2 separate regions of the Homo sapiens genome follow, and region 1 is linked to region 2. The links are contacts of gene promoters, found by promoter capture Hi-C in human tissues and cell types (Jung and others, 2019). All regions are on one chromosome and are shown on one strand. Each heading gives the region's core, a stretch centred on a gene start or on the middle of the fragment in contact. The rest is flanking DNA. Distances are from core to core; before and after follow the strand shown. Region 1 overlaps ESCO1 (establishment of sister chromatid cohesion N-acetyltransferase 1). Region 2 holds the start of SNRPD1 (small nuclear ribonucleoprotein D1 polypeptide).

Region 1 (6,017 bases), core at 2,020-4,519, 69 kb after region 2:
ATTTGCCCAAAGCAGGGCAGCTAGTGAGTAGCAGAGTTTGCATTCGAATTTTAGGTTTTTCTGATTTTTGAAATCCTCCTTACCACTATGCTATACTGCCAAGATAATGGTTTGTATACATGGTAGGTAGTCAGTACAAATTTACTGAATTGAGAGAATTTTTCCATGTGTATGTCACTTTCAAACTAGTAGTAATATCTAAGACTTTTAAACACTTTGAAGTTCAATATGGCCATATGGATTAGACACACATCTTTACCAGTATTGGGTTTTTTTTGTTTTTGAGATGGAGTTTCGCTCTTGTCACCCAGGCTGGAGTGCAGTGACATGATCTCTGCTCACTGCAGCCTCCGCCTCCTGGGTTCAGGTGATCCTCCTGCCTCAGCCCCCCCGAGTAGCTGGGATTACAGGCGTGCGCCACATGCTCAGCTAATTTTTTGTATTTTTAGTAGACATGGGGTTTCGCCATGTTGGCCAGGCTGGTCTCGAACTCCTGACCTCAGGAGATCCACCCGCCTCAGCCTCCCAAAGTGCTGGGATTACAAGTGTGAGCCACTGCGCCCGGCCTCAACTTAACTTTTTAAATTACTATTGAAATGCCTATTTTTCTAATTCCTTTAGTAAATTTTTTTTTTTTTTTTGAGACGGTGTCTTGCTCTGTTAACCGGGCTGGAGTGCAATGGTGTGATCTCGGCTCGCTGCAGCCTCTGCCTCCCAGGTTCAGGGGATTCTCCTGCCTCAGCCTCCTGAGTAGCTGGGATTACAGGTGCCCGCCACCAAGCCTGGCTAATTTTTGTATTTTTAGTAGAGACGGGGTTTGCCATGTTGGCCAGTTTGATCTCGAACTCCTGACCTCAGGCGATCTTCCCACCTTGGCCTCCCAAAGTGCTGGGATTACAGGCATGAGCCACCGCACCTGTCCAGTAATTGTTTTTAAGTAAAATTTTTACTGACTTATAACATGTAAAGAAAGTACACAGGCTAGACATGGTGTCTCACATCTGTAATCCCAATTCTTAAGGAGGCTGAGGTGGGAGGATGGCTTGAGCCCAGCACTTTGAGACCAGCCTTGGCAACATAGTGAGACCCCATCTGAACCAAAAAAAGAAAAAGAAAGTACACAGCGAGTACACAGCTTAATAATGGTGTATTTTCACAAAGTGAACACACCCATGTAAGAAGAAGCAACATTACTGGCACCTCCAAAACTCCTTTGTGATCCTATTACAGTCACTGCTTTATCACACTTCAGGTCTAGCTGCTCCTGTTACAGTCACTACTTTACTGCACTTCGGGTCTGGCTGCAACGCTGACTAGATTAGTTTTGCATTTATTTTTTACTTCTAAATACTTGAACAAACCTTGGGCCATTGGTACAGTTTTGACAATAGGCAATTTGAATTTTCCAAAACAAGTTTAATACAGCACACACACACAGAGTAATGAACCCCTTTGTACTGATCACCTACCTTCAACAATTCATGGATAATCATCTAACTTTCCCAATTATTTTGAAGTAAACTTAGGCATCATGTTATTACTTTAGTAGATATTTCTAAGTATGTACTTCTTTTTTTTTTTTTTGAGATGGAGTTTCACTCTTGTTGCCCAAGCTGCAGTGCAATGGCATGATCTTGGCTCACTGCAACCTCCACCTCCTGGGTTCAAGTGATTCTCCTGCCTCAGCCTCCCAAGTAGCTGGGATTACAGGTGCATGCCACCACGCTTGTCTAGTTTTTGTTTTTTTTTTGTTTTTTTTTTGTATTTTTAGTAGAAACGAGGTTTCACCAGGTTAGCCAGGCTGGTCTCGAACTTCTGACCTCAGGTAATCCGCCTGCCTTGGCCCCCAAAAGTGCTGGGATTACAGGTGTGAGCCACCATGCCCCACCTCTAAATATGTATTGCTTAAAGATGAAGATTACTCCTTTTTTGTTTGTTTTGAGTTGGAGTCTCGCTCTGTCGCCCAGGCTGGAGTGCAGTGGCGCGATCTCGGCTCACTGCAACCTCTGTCCCCTGGGTTCAAGCAATTCTCCTGCCTCAGCCTCCCAAGTAGCTGGGACTACAGGCGTGCACCACCACACCCAGCTAATTTTTTTGTATTTTTAGTAGAGACAGGGTTTCACCGTGTTAGCCAGGATGGTCTCGATCTCCTGACCTTGTGATCCGCCTTCCTCAGCCTCTCAAAGTGCTGGGATTGCAGGTGTGAGCCACTGCGCTTGGCCAAAGATTATTCCTTTTTTAAACATAAAAGTACCTTAAAGAATATAACTACACCTTCAATAAATGAATTAATTGTTGAAATCAAGTTTTCTATCAGAGTTCAAAGCTTCCCAAATAGCTCATGATTTCCTATGTTGCTTATTTGTTTGAATTAGGGTTTATATATTACATTGGTTGTTATGTCCCTTTAGTATCTTTTAATCCCAAAGTTCTCCCTGGTTCTGTTTTTTTCCCTTGTAATATTTGTTTATTTTTTGAAAAGCTGGTTGTTGGTTTTATTTCTTCAAATATTCCTTCAAATGTATATTCTCATTCAACCTTTTCATGAAATTGTGATTAATGTGAACTTTTAAAGTCGGGGTATTATTTATACAATTAAATCTACACATCTTAAGTGTTTGGTTTGAATTTTGATCATTGTATATACTCAGTGTATTTACCACTCAGTGTATTTTGTTTCCAATTGTAATCCTTTTTTTGATGGAAAAAGGAGAAATCCATTCTTTAGACTGTACAGTTTAGAGTAACTCCAATAGCAAGGAGAAAAGAGTAATAATTTCTTAATCCCAACACTTTGGAAGGCCAAGGCTGGCGGATCACCTGAGGTCGGGAGTTCGAAACCAGCCTGACCAACATGGAGAAACCCTGTTTCTACTAAAAATACAAAAAAAATCAGCTCGGCGTGGTGGCACATGCCTGTGATCCCAACTACTCGGGAGGCTGAGGCAGGAGAATTGCTTGAACCCGGGAGGCGGAGGTTGCAGTGAGCCGAGATTGCGCCATTGCACTCCAGCCTGGGCAACAAGATTGAAACTGTCTCAAAAAAAAAAATAAATAAAATAATAATAATTTCTTGCTGTTAGAAATACAAATTAGGAATATAAAGTTTTCTGCTTTTCATGAAGCAGAAATGGATGAAGTAAGAAAAAATGGGTTTTGGAAAATACTACTTGTTAGCAGAGGGTTATGTGTAACATACTAGTCCTGAAATATGTTGGAGCTAAAGGTCAGAAGTGTAAGTGCACTGCATTGGAATTTATTTCTTTGCAAAAACGTTGTGGCTATTTGATTATTCTTCTAAATTGCATGCACTCTTTCCTGAACCCTGCTTCTCCTCTGCCTTAATTTTAAGCATTGGATGGACTTTATCGCCTCTAAGTTTCTCTGAAGTAAGGAGGGTCATGTGGTTATTGTGACTAGCAGTTAACTGTAGTTGAGGCATAGATATGTCTTGAGTATGTTATTTGAACAAATATTAGCTAACTTGTTTCTTTCATCTTTTATTTGCCTATGATTTGAATTTATTGCTGTATTTACCCTTGGGAACATTTATTGATTGACTGTTTTGTTAGATTAGTGCATTGATCTTAGTTTGATACTAGTAAGAAGGGAGAATGGAAGTTGCTAAGAGTTACTTAGTGGCTACTCTTTGAGCAGTCATCTTAAATACAGCACCCTCGTACCTACCCAAGTGATGGAGGTGATGATAGCCATTTTTTAGAATGCTAAGATCAGGAAACAGAATCAGAGTTCCAGTGATTTGCCTAAGGCCATGCATCTAGTAACTACCAAGAACAAGGATCTAAACCCTGAACTTTTACTCTAGAGTTACTTAAAAGTTTTCACTGAAATATGCTTTCTTAGCTTGGCATGGTGGTGCACGCCTGTAGTCCCAGCTACTTGGGAGGCTGAAGCAAGAGGATTGCTTGAGCCCCAGGAGTTTGAAGCTGCTGTGAGCTGTGATCTTGCCACTGCACTCCAGCCTGGGTGACAGAGTGAGACTCTGTCTCAAATAAGTAAATTACATTAATAAATAAAACTTGCTGTTTTCATGAACATTAGAAATCTAAGCAATACTAAGTATCCTTTTGCAGCCTTTGCTTCTTAAAGGGCTTTTATTTAGTACATGAAAAAAAGGTACTATTTAAAACATAAAATTATATCAAATGGAATTGTGATAAAAATTTCGGCATGAACATACAAGTCTGAAGTTGTTTCAAGAGAAAGTTTTGCACTCAAAAATTAGTAAAGCAAAATAATTTGTCTAATGTCTATAATGCAATATAATGACATGAAACCAGTATTACTGTTTTCAAAGGCATTTAATAGGAAAATAGTTTATGGAACTGTCTTTAGATGATTCAGTTCAGGAAGAATGGTTTTCTTATAACTTGAGGTTACTTACATTTTTAGGTCTTTTCGATGTTTTAAAGTGAAAATCTCTTTTCATTTTATTAAAAATAGGTTCATAAATTTAAAAGCTTTTTCATAAAGTAACATTAGTAATAGAAATTTGTTTTTAAAGAGGTGATGTCTTGTAAATCTTCTAAAAATTGTTTACCTATATTCAGATCTCTATATGATTCAGATTTACTTTCTTTCTTTTTTTTTTTTTTTTTTTGGGACAGTGTCTCGCTCTGTCACCCAGGCTGGAGTGCAATGGCGCGAACTCAGCTCACTGCAACCTCCACCTCCCGAGTTCAAGCAATTCTCCTGCCTCAGCCTCCTGAGTAGCCAGAACTACAGGCGCGTGCCACCACACCCGCCTAAAAATACAATAATTTTTTGTATTTTAGTAGATTCGGGGTTTCCAGGATGGTCTCAATCTCCTGACCTTGTGATCTGCCCTCCTCCCAAAGTGCTGGGATTACAGGCGTGAGCCACTGCACCCGGCCTTAAGTTTCTTTTTTAAAACCTTATTTACGTTGAAGAACTACAGATTTAGTTTCTTAGATGAAAAAAGGACTTCTGTGGCTATTGTTTCTGCTCCTTTCTTTTCAAATCTTGAGAACATTTTACCAATCATAATTTTAATCATCTGAATTTTAACTTGGGTACTCTATTATGTAAACAAATTTTGGATTTTAAATATTTTAATTTAAATTGTTACATATACCAAGCTTATTACCTAGAATTTTTGTTCCCAACTATGATCTTTCTACCTTCCCCCTCCAAAAAATTCCTGATGGTTTAAGAAAACGAATCTGCTTTCACACTTGCCATAGTATATTTTTAAAGAAATCTAGTTGCCATTTTCTTGGTTTCATTGAGCTTTTTGTGTTCTTAGAAGAAACATCAGAAAAAATATGGTGGTTTTCTCTACTAGAAGTATAAATGGCTTCTGGAAAGGCCTTTTTATGTAAAGTTGGTTGGGTTAAGACAACTGGAACAACTAGTTAAGCTCATTCCTTCTGTACTTATTTTGAACTTCAAAGCTCCTAGTTTTAACCTCTGGTTCAGTCCCATCTTACTAGATTTAAGTGGCTTTTGTTTTGTTTTGTTTTTTTATGCAGGTTCTGCTCATTAATCACCACGAGTGTGGATCTGAAGAAGAGTTTATTACCTCTCTTTTTTTGAGTATGTTTAACTTCAGATACACACAACGTAGCTTCTCCTTCCCTATTAGATTCTTAGAAGGTAGTTATATTTTTTATAGTCTCCTTCTTGTGGCTTTGGTAGTTGTGATCAATAAGCATAAGACTATTCCTTTCATACTGGGCTACTGCATGCAAATCAGTTCATTTAAAACCTCCTGGAGGTCTTTGGCATGCCAGACATAAAACTTGGAGTGTTTGTTTGTGGAGGTAACCATGTTCCAATGAAATATAAGAGTTTAATTCTTTTATCAAGAATCTGGGAGAGTTATAGTTTCTGGGAATTACTGACTTTAAGGGGCTTGCTTTTGGTGTGTGGCTTTCAAAATTAATTTAAAACGGGAAATGATAAATTAGAAATACTCTTGTGGTATTAGATATATCTCTGAATGAGTAGTAGAGAGAAATTAGCTTGCCTTGTAC
Region 2 (5,827 bases), core at 336-2,835:
CAACTCCTCCCTGAATATAATTTTTTTTTTTTTTTTTTTTTTTTGAGATGGAGTCTCGCTCTGTCGCCCAGGCTGGAGCGTAGTGCCACGATATCGGCTCACTGCAACCTCTGCCGCCTGGGTTCAAGCGATTCTCCTGCCTCAGCCTCCTGAGTAGCTGGGATTAAAGGCGCGCGCCACCACGCCCCACTAACTTTTGTAATTTTCGTAGAGACGGGGTTTCACCATGTTGGTCAGGCTGGTCTCGAACTCCTGACCTAGTGATCCACCCGCCTTGGCCTCCCAAAGTGCTGGGATTACAGACGTGAGCCACTGCGCCTGGCCTCCTCCCTGAGTGTTGAAGGCTTTTATGTGTTATTTAAAACGTTTCAAACAAACGTTACTTCAGACGTTATCTACTTGTCTGTCATCCCCACTAACCAGAAAACTCCAACAAGGCAGGTACTCTGCCTTTTAAAAAATCCTATTACCAGCGCCTAGTATGTAACAGGTGCCCAATAACTATTTAGCGGATATTGACAATCCTTGACTCAACAGGAAAAAAACAAGCTAAATATTTATAATTGCTGGCTTAGCTATTAGAAACGTCTGCCTCTGTTCCAGGCTTAGTCTCAAGGAAAAACACCAAAACCAAATCTACTTGCAGGTAGTTTAGAATTATTCACATCAGCAAACAAGTTTTCAGAAGACTCACCTAACTGACAGGGTCTATTTATTTCTTAAGAAATAAAACAGGAGAACTATATATTATCTGAGTAATCAGCCACAATTACGTTGTGATAATTTCTGCCCTATATTGGGAGATTTTCCTAAATAAAAAGCCTACCTTAAAGGGAAATAGAGGTGGAATAATCAATCACAAATCTAAGGAGGATAAAAAGGTAAACTTAAAAATCGGCCGGGCACGGTGGCTCAAACCTGTAATCTCAGCCCTTTGGAAGGGCGAGGCGGGCAGAAAGCTTGAGCCCAGGAGTTCGAGACCAGCCTGGTCAACAAAGTGAGACACCATCTTTATTTAAAAAAACAAAAACTTGTGAAGCCGGAAGTCCTTCTCTGATTTAAAATATTTTGCAAACAGGTTTGTTTCCAGATAAGCTCATACAGCTTTCTAAGTACTGTTAAGCAGGACTGGGGAGTTCCACTCAAAAAGAAAATGAGTAACTGTAAGAGGGAGATGTGTCCCAGGAGGCGCTGCATCTTTAAAGCCTCTAAGTCACTAGGCAGGAAGAAAAGGCTCGGCCTTTATACCAATCTCTTGGAAGACACGCGGGATCCGCGAGCGACCCAGGCGGAAGCCCAGGCCCGAGCACGAGCTGCGGGCGCAGTAAGGCCGGCCGTTAGCAGGCCGCGCACACGCGGCTTTCCCGCCTCCTGCAAATGGGAGAGCCCAGCCTTCCGGACTCCGGGCCAAGCCCTCCCTTCACAGCCCCCAGAGCTGCTTGGTCACTCCCTCACCTCACGAGCTTCATCCTAGCGGCGCCGTCACCCTCTGGGTCCGACAGCACACAGAATCCTTCAACCGAACACTGACCGACTGCAGTATGAATGGCCGGAAGCGCCTACTCCAGGGGCTCCGGACGTCAAGAGCGCGCGGAGCACTGCAGGCGCATGGCGGAAACGCCGAGGCTGCGCTGGGCCGCACTCTCTTCCGGCCGCGAGGAGCGCGACTGCGGCCCCTGGCGGCTGGAGGTTGCCTTGCGACGGCTGAGGGTATCGAGGGCTGGTCTTGGAGAAAAATGTCCTACAAGAGAGGGAGATTCGAAGAGATTAAATCCAATTAATAGGACTGTCGCATTTTGGGAGGCCGAAGCGGGGGTATCACCTGAGGTCAGGAGTTCAAGACCAGCCTGGCCAACAGGGTGAAACCCCCGTCTCTACTAAAAAGACAAAAAATTAGCTGGGCGTGGTGGCGGGCGCATGTAATCCCAGCTACTCGGAAGGCTGAGGCAGGGGAATCGCTTGAACCCGGGAGGCGGAGGCTGCAGTGAGCGGAGATCGCACCACTACACTCCTGCCTGGGCAACAAGAACGAAACTCCGTCTCCCAAAAAAAAAAAAAAAAAAAAAAAGTACTGTCACCATCACGTTTCTGAACAGCAGGGCACTGTGAGTGCAGCACCTAATACAAATTCCTCACTGAACGGAAAGAAGGTCTTAGAGAAGCCCAAAGTCTTATGCTGATTCTGTTCCAACACCAGGAACCTAGCATTGCTTACTGTACCTGAAGCAAATCACACAATGGGCCAGGCGCTGTGGCTCAAGCCTGTAATTCCAGCACTTTGGGAGGCCGAGGCGGGCAGATAGCGAGGTCAAGAGATCGAGACCATTCTGGCCAACATGGTGAAACCCCGCCTCTACTAAAAATACAAAAATTAGCGGGGCGTGGTGATGCGCGCCTGTAGTCCCAGCTATTCGGGAGGCTGAGGCAGGAGAATCGCTTGAACCCAGGAGGTGGAGGTTGCAGTGAGCTGAGATCGTGCCACTGCACTCCAGCCTGGCAACAGAGCGAGACTCCGTCTCAAAAAATAATAATAATAAAAATAAAATCCACAATGTAGCAGATTATTTTCACTTTAAGTTCCAATCTATAAGACAAACTTTTCAGTCTTCATCTTTCTCAACATCTCATCAAAATATATATATTTTTTATTTTTTTGAGATGGAGTCTCACTCTGTCGCCCAGGCCGGAGTGCAGTAGCGCGATCTCAGCTCACTGCAACCCTTGCCTCCCGGTTTCAAGCCATTCTCGTGCCTCAGCCTCTCCAGTAACTGAGATTACAGGCGCGCATCACCATGGCCCGCTAATTATCGTCTTTTTATGTATGTATGTATGTACGTACGTATGTATGTATTTTGAGACAGAGTCTCCCTCTGTCGCCCAGGCTGTAGTGCAGTGGCGCGATCTCGGCTCACTGCAAGCTCCGCCTTCCGGGTTCACGCTATTCTCCTGCCTCGGCCTCCCAAGTAGCTGGGACTACAGGCGCCAGCCACCACGCCCGGCTAATTTTTTTGTATTTTTAGTAGAGACGGGGTTAGCCAGGATGGTTTCGATCTCCTGACCTCGTGATCCGCCCGCCTCGGCCTCCCAAAGTGCTGGGATTATAGGCGTGAGCCACCGCGCCCGGCATTATTGTCTCTTTAGTATGTGAGCTTCATCAAAATTTAACACAAACACTCCCCTTCCCTCTTTCGGGTTTCAGGATGCCAAGCTCACCTGGCCTTTTTCCTTATCCTACTAACTACTCTTGCTTTGTTTTGTTTTGTTTATAGACAGGGTTTCTCGCTCTGTTGCCCAGGCAGGAGTGCAATGGCACAATCAGGGCTCACTGCAGCCTTGACCGTCTGGGCTCAAGCTATCCTCCTGCCTCAGCCTTCTCAGTAGCTGGGACCACAAGTGCGTGCCACCATGCCCAGCTAATATTTTATTTTTTATTTCGTAGAGAAGAGGTCTTACTATGTTGCCCAGGCTAGTATCCAACTCCTGGGCTCAAGAGATTCCACTGCCGTGGCCTCCCAAAGTACTGGGTTTACAGGCCCAGAGCCTCCATGCCCAGCCTCTAACTACTCTTTCTAAATCTCCTTAGCTGGTTCCTCCTTCCCTATGGAGCCAATACATGTCACAGTGTTTCCCGGCTTGTGGCTGTAGTCTTTTTATGTATACTTTTTCTTTTAACCTGGTAATCTCCTCCAAAACCATGACTTTGATTTGTATCTCTAGCCTAGACTTCATCGCTGATCAACAGAACTCTTAGATATTGTAAGACAATACTTATCGGCTGGGCATGGTGGCTCATGCCTGTAATCTCAGCACTTTGGGAGGCCGAGATGGGCAGATCATGAGGTCAAGAGATCGAGACCATCCTGGCCAACATGGTGAAACCTCGTCTCCACTAAAAATACAAAAATTAGCTGGGCGTGGTGGCGCATGCCTGTAGTCCCAGCTACTTGGGAGGCTGAGTCCCAGCTACTCGGGAGGCTGAGGCAGAAGAATTGCTTGAACCCGGGAGGCGGAGGTTGCAGTGAGTGGAGATTGTGCCACTGCGCTCCAGCCTGGGCGACAGAGCAAGACTCCGTCTCAAAAAATAATAATAATAATAAAAATTAAAAAAAATAAAGTTTCCCCAGGTGAGTCCTACACACATTAAACTTTGATAAATATTGCCCTTTTTTTGTTGTTTGAGACTGACTTGCCACGCCTGGCCAAAACTTTATATTTATTTATTTATTTATTTATTTATTTTTGAGATGGAGTTTCACTCTTGTTGCCCAAGCCGGAGTGCAATGGCACGATCTCAGCTCACTGCAACCTCTGCCTCCTGGGTTCAAATGATTCTCCTGCCTAAGTCTCCTGAGTAGATGGGATTACAGGCACTCACTACTGCGCCCAGCTAATTTTTTGTATTTTTAGTAGAAATGGGGTTTCACCATGTTAGCTCGGCTGGTCTCGAACTCCTGACCTCAGATGATCCATCCACCTTGGCCTCCCAAAGTGCTGGGATTTCAGGCTTGAGCCACCACGCCCAGCCTGGAAACTTTAAAATGAAAATCTGATTCAATCGTTGTGGGGCCTGAAATTCTGCAGTTCTAACAAGCCTTCAGTTGATGAAGCTGCCCCTACTCTATACACATCAATTTGAGTAGCAAGGCTAAAACGGATATTTGTGTGTTGCCTTCTCAACATCTATTCCCTTGTCTTTCCAAATGTTTCTAATATTCTTCTTGTGATCCTTGTGGTCCTAAGAAAGCTGACTCTACCCTTTTAATACTCCATTCCATTACTTGTTCACAGTAGGTTTGGGATCTAAGTTGATCCAATTGGACCTTTAGAGGGAATGTTCTTTTCTTTTGTTGTGAATGGAAAGGGAGTAACCCCTGGAGCTGTTGGGAACTTCCTTACAACCAGGAGAAGAACCAATTTCAGGACATAGTGTTGTTTGTTTCTTTGTTTGTTTGTTCATTTAGACAGGATCTTGCTCTGTTGCCCAGGCTGGGGTGCAGTGGTGTGATCCTAGCTCACTGTAGCCTTAGGCTCCTGGGAATAAATTGATCCTCCCACCTCAGCCTCCCAAAGTGCTGGGATTACAGGGAGCCACTGTGCCCAGCCAAGGACAGAGTTTATAAAAAACTAAAACCTGTGATGACATCAATGAGCCCCTAGATAATGAATACTGCCTGAATGTTGCTATTTAGAATTAAATAGCCAGCCCTGCAGTGCATGCCTATAGTCTCAGCTACTTGGAAGGCTGAGGCAGGAGAATCACTGGAGCCCAGGAGTTTGAGGCCAGCCAGGGCAGCACAGGAAGACCCTATCTCAAAAATGAAAAAAATTAAATAAAATTTAAAAATTCAGCTCCTCAGGCCAGGTGTAGTGGCTCATGCCTGTAATCCCAGCACTTTGGGAGGCCGAGGCAGGTGGATCATGAATGAGGTCAAGAGATCAAGACAATCCTGGCCACCATGGTGAAACCCCATCTCTACTAAAAATACAAAAAAATTAGCCGGGCATGGTGGTGCATGCCTGTAGTCTCAGCTATTCGGGAAGCTGAGGCAGAAGAATTGCTGAAACTTGGGAGGTGGAGTTTGCAGGGAGCCGAGATCACGCCTCTGCACTCCAGCCTGGGCGATGAGCAAGGGTCCATCTCAAAAAAAAAAAAAAAAAAAATTCAGCTCCTCAATTTTGGTAACTGCATTTCTTTTTTTTTTTTTCGAGATGGAGTCTTGCTCCATCACCCAGGCTGGAGTGCGGTGGCTCCATCTCAGCTCACTGCAACCTCCACCTCCTGGGTTCCAGCAATTCTCTGCCTCAGTCTCCCAAGTAGCTGGGATTA

The links. Contacts are between HindIII fragments. The study calls those that stand out against the background at their distance.
Region 1: a contact is called between a fragment that was not itself captured here and the fragment with the promoter of SNRPD1 in region 2, in 6 of the 25 tissues and cell types used here (adrenal gland, aorta, dorsolateral prefrontal cortex and 3 more).

Annotation. Positions count from the first base shown.
Region 1 is chr18:21,540,197-21,546,213 of GRCh38, reverse strand. All of the region lies in intron 8 of ESCO1 (establishment of sister chromatid cohesion N-acetyltransferase 1), which reads left to right. Among named protein-coding and RNA genes, the nearest start is that of ESCO1, 57 kb to the left of the region's middle. The HindIII fragment of the contact is 5,589 bases long and covers 475-6,017 here.
Region 2 is chr18:21,608,072-21,613,898 of GRCh38, reverse strand. It overlaps SNRPD1 (small nuclear ribonucleoprotein D1 polypeptide), which reads right to left and starts at 1,585. Exons shown (of 4, transcript NM_006938.4): 1 at 1,456-1,585. The coding sequence starts at 1,469. RefSeq lists an enhancer at 1,437-1,526 and a silencer at 1,787-1,836. The HindIII fragment of the contact is 13,798 bases long and covers 1-5,827 here.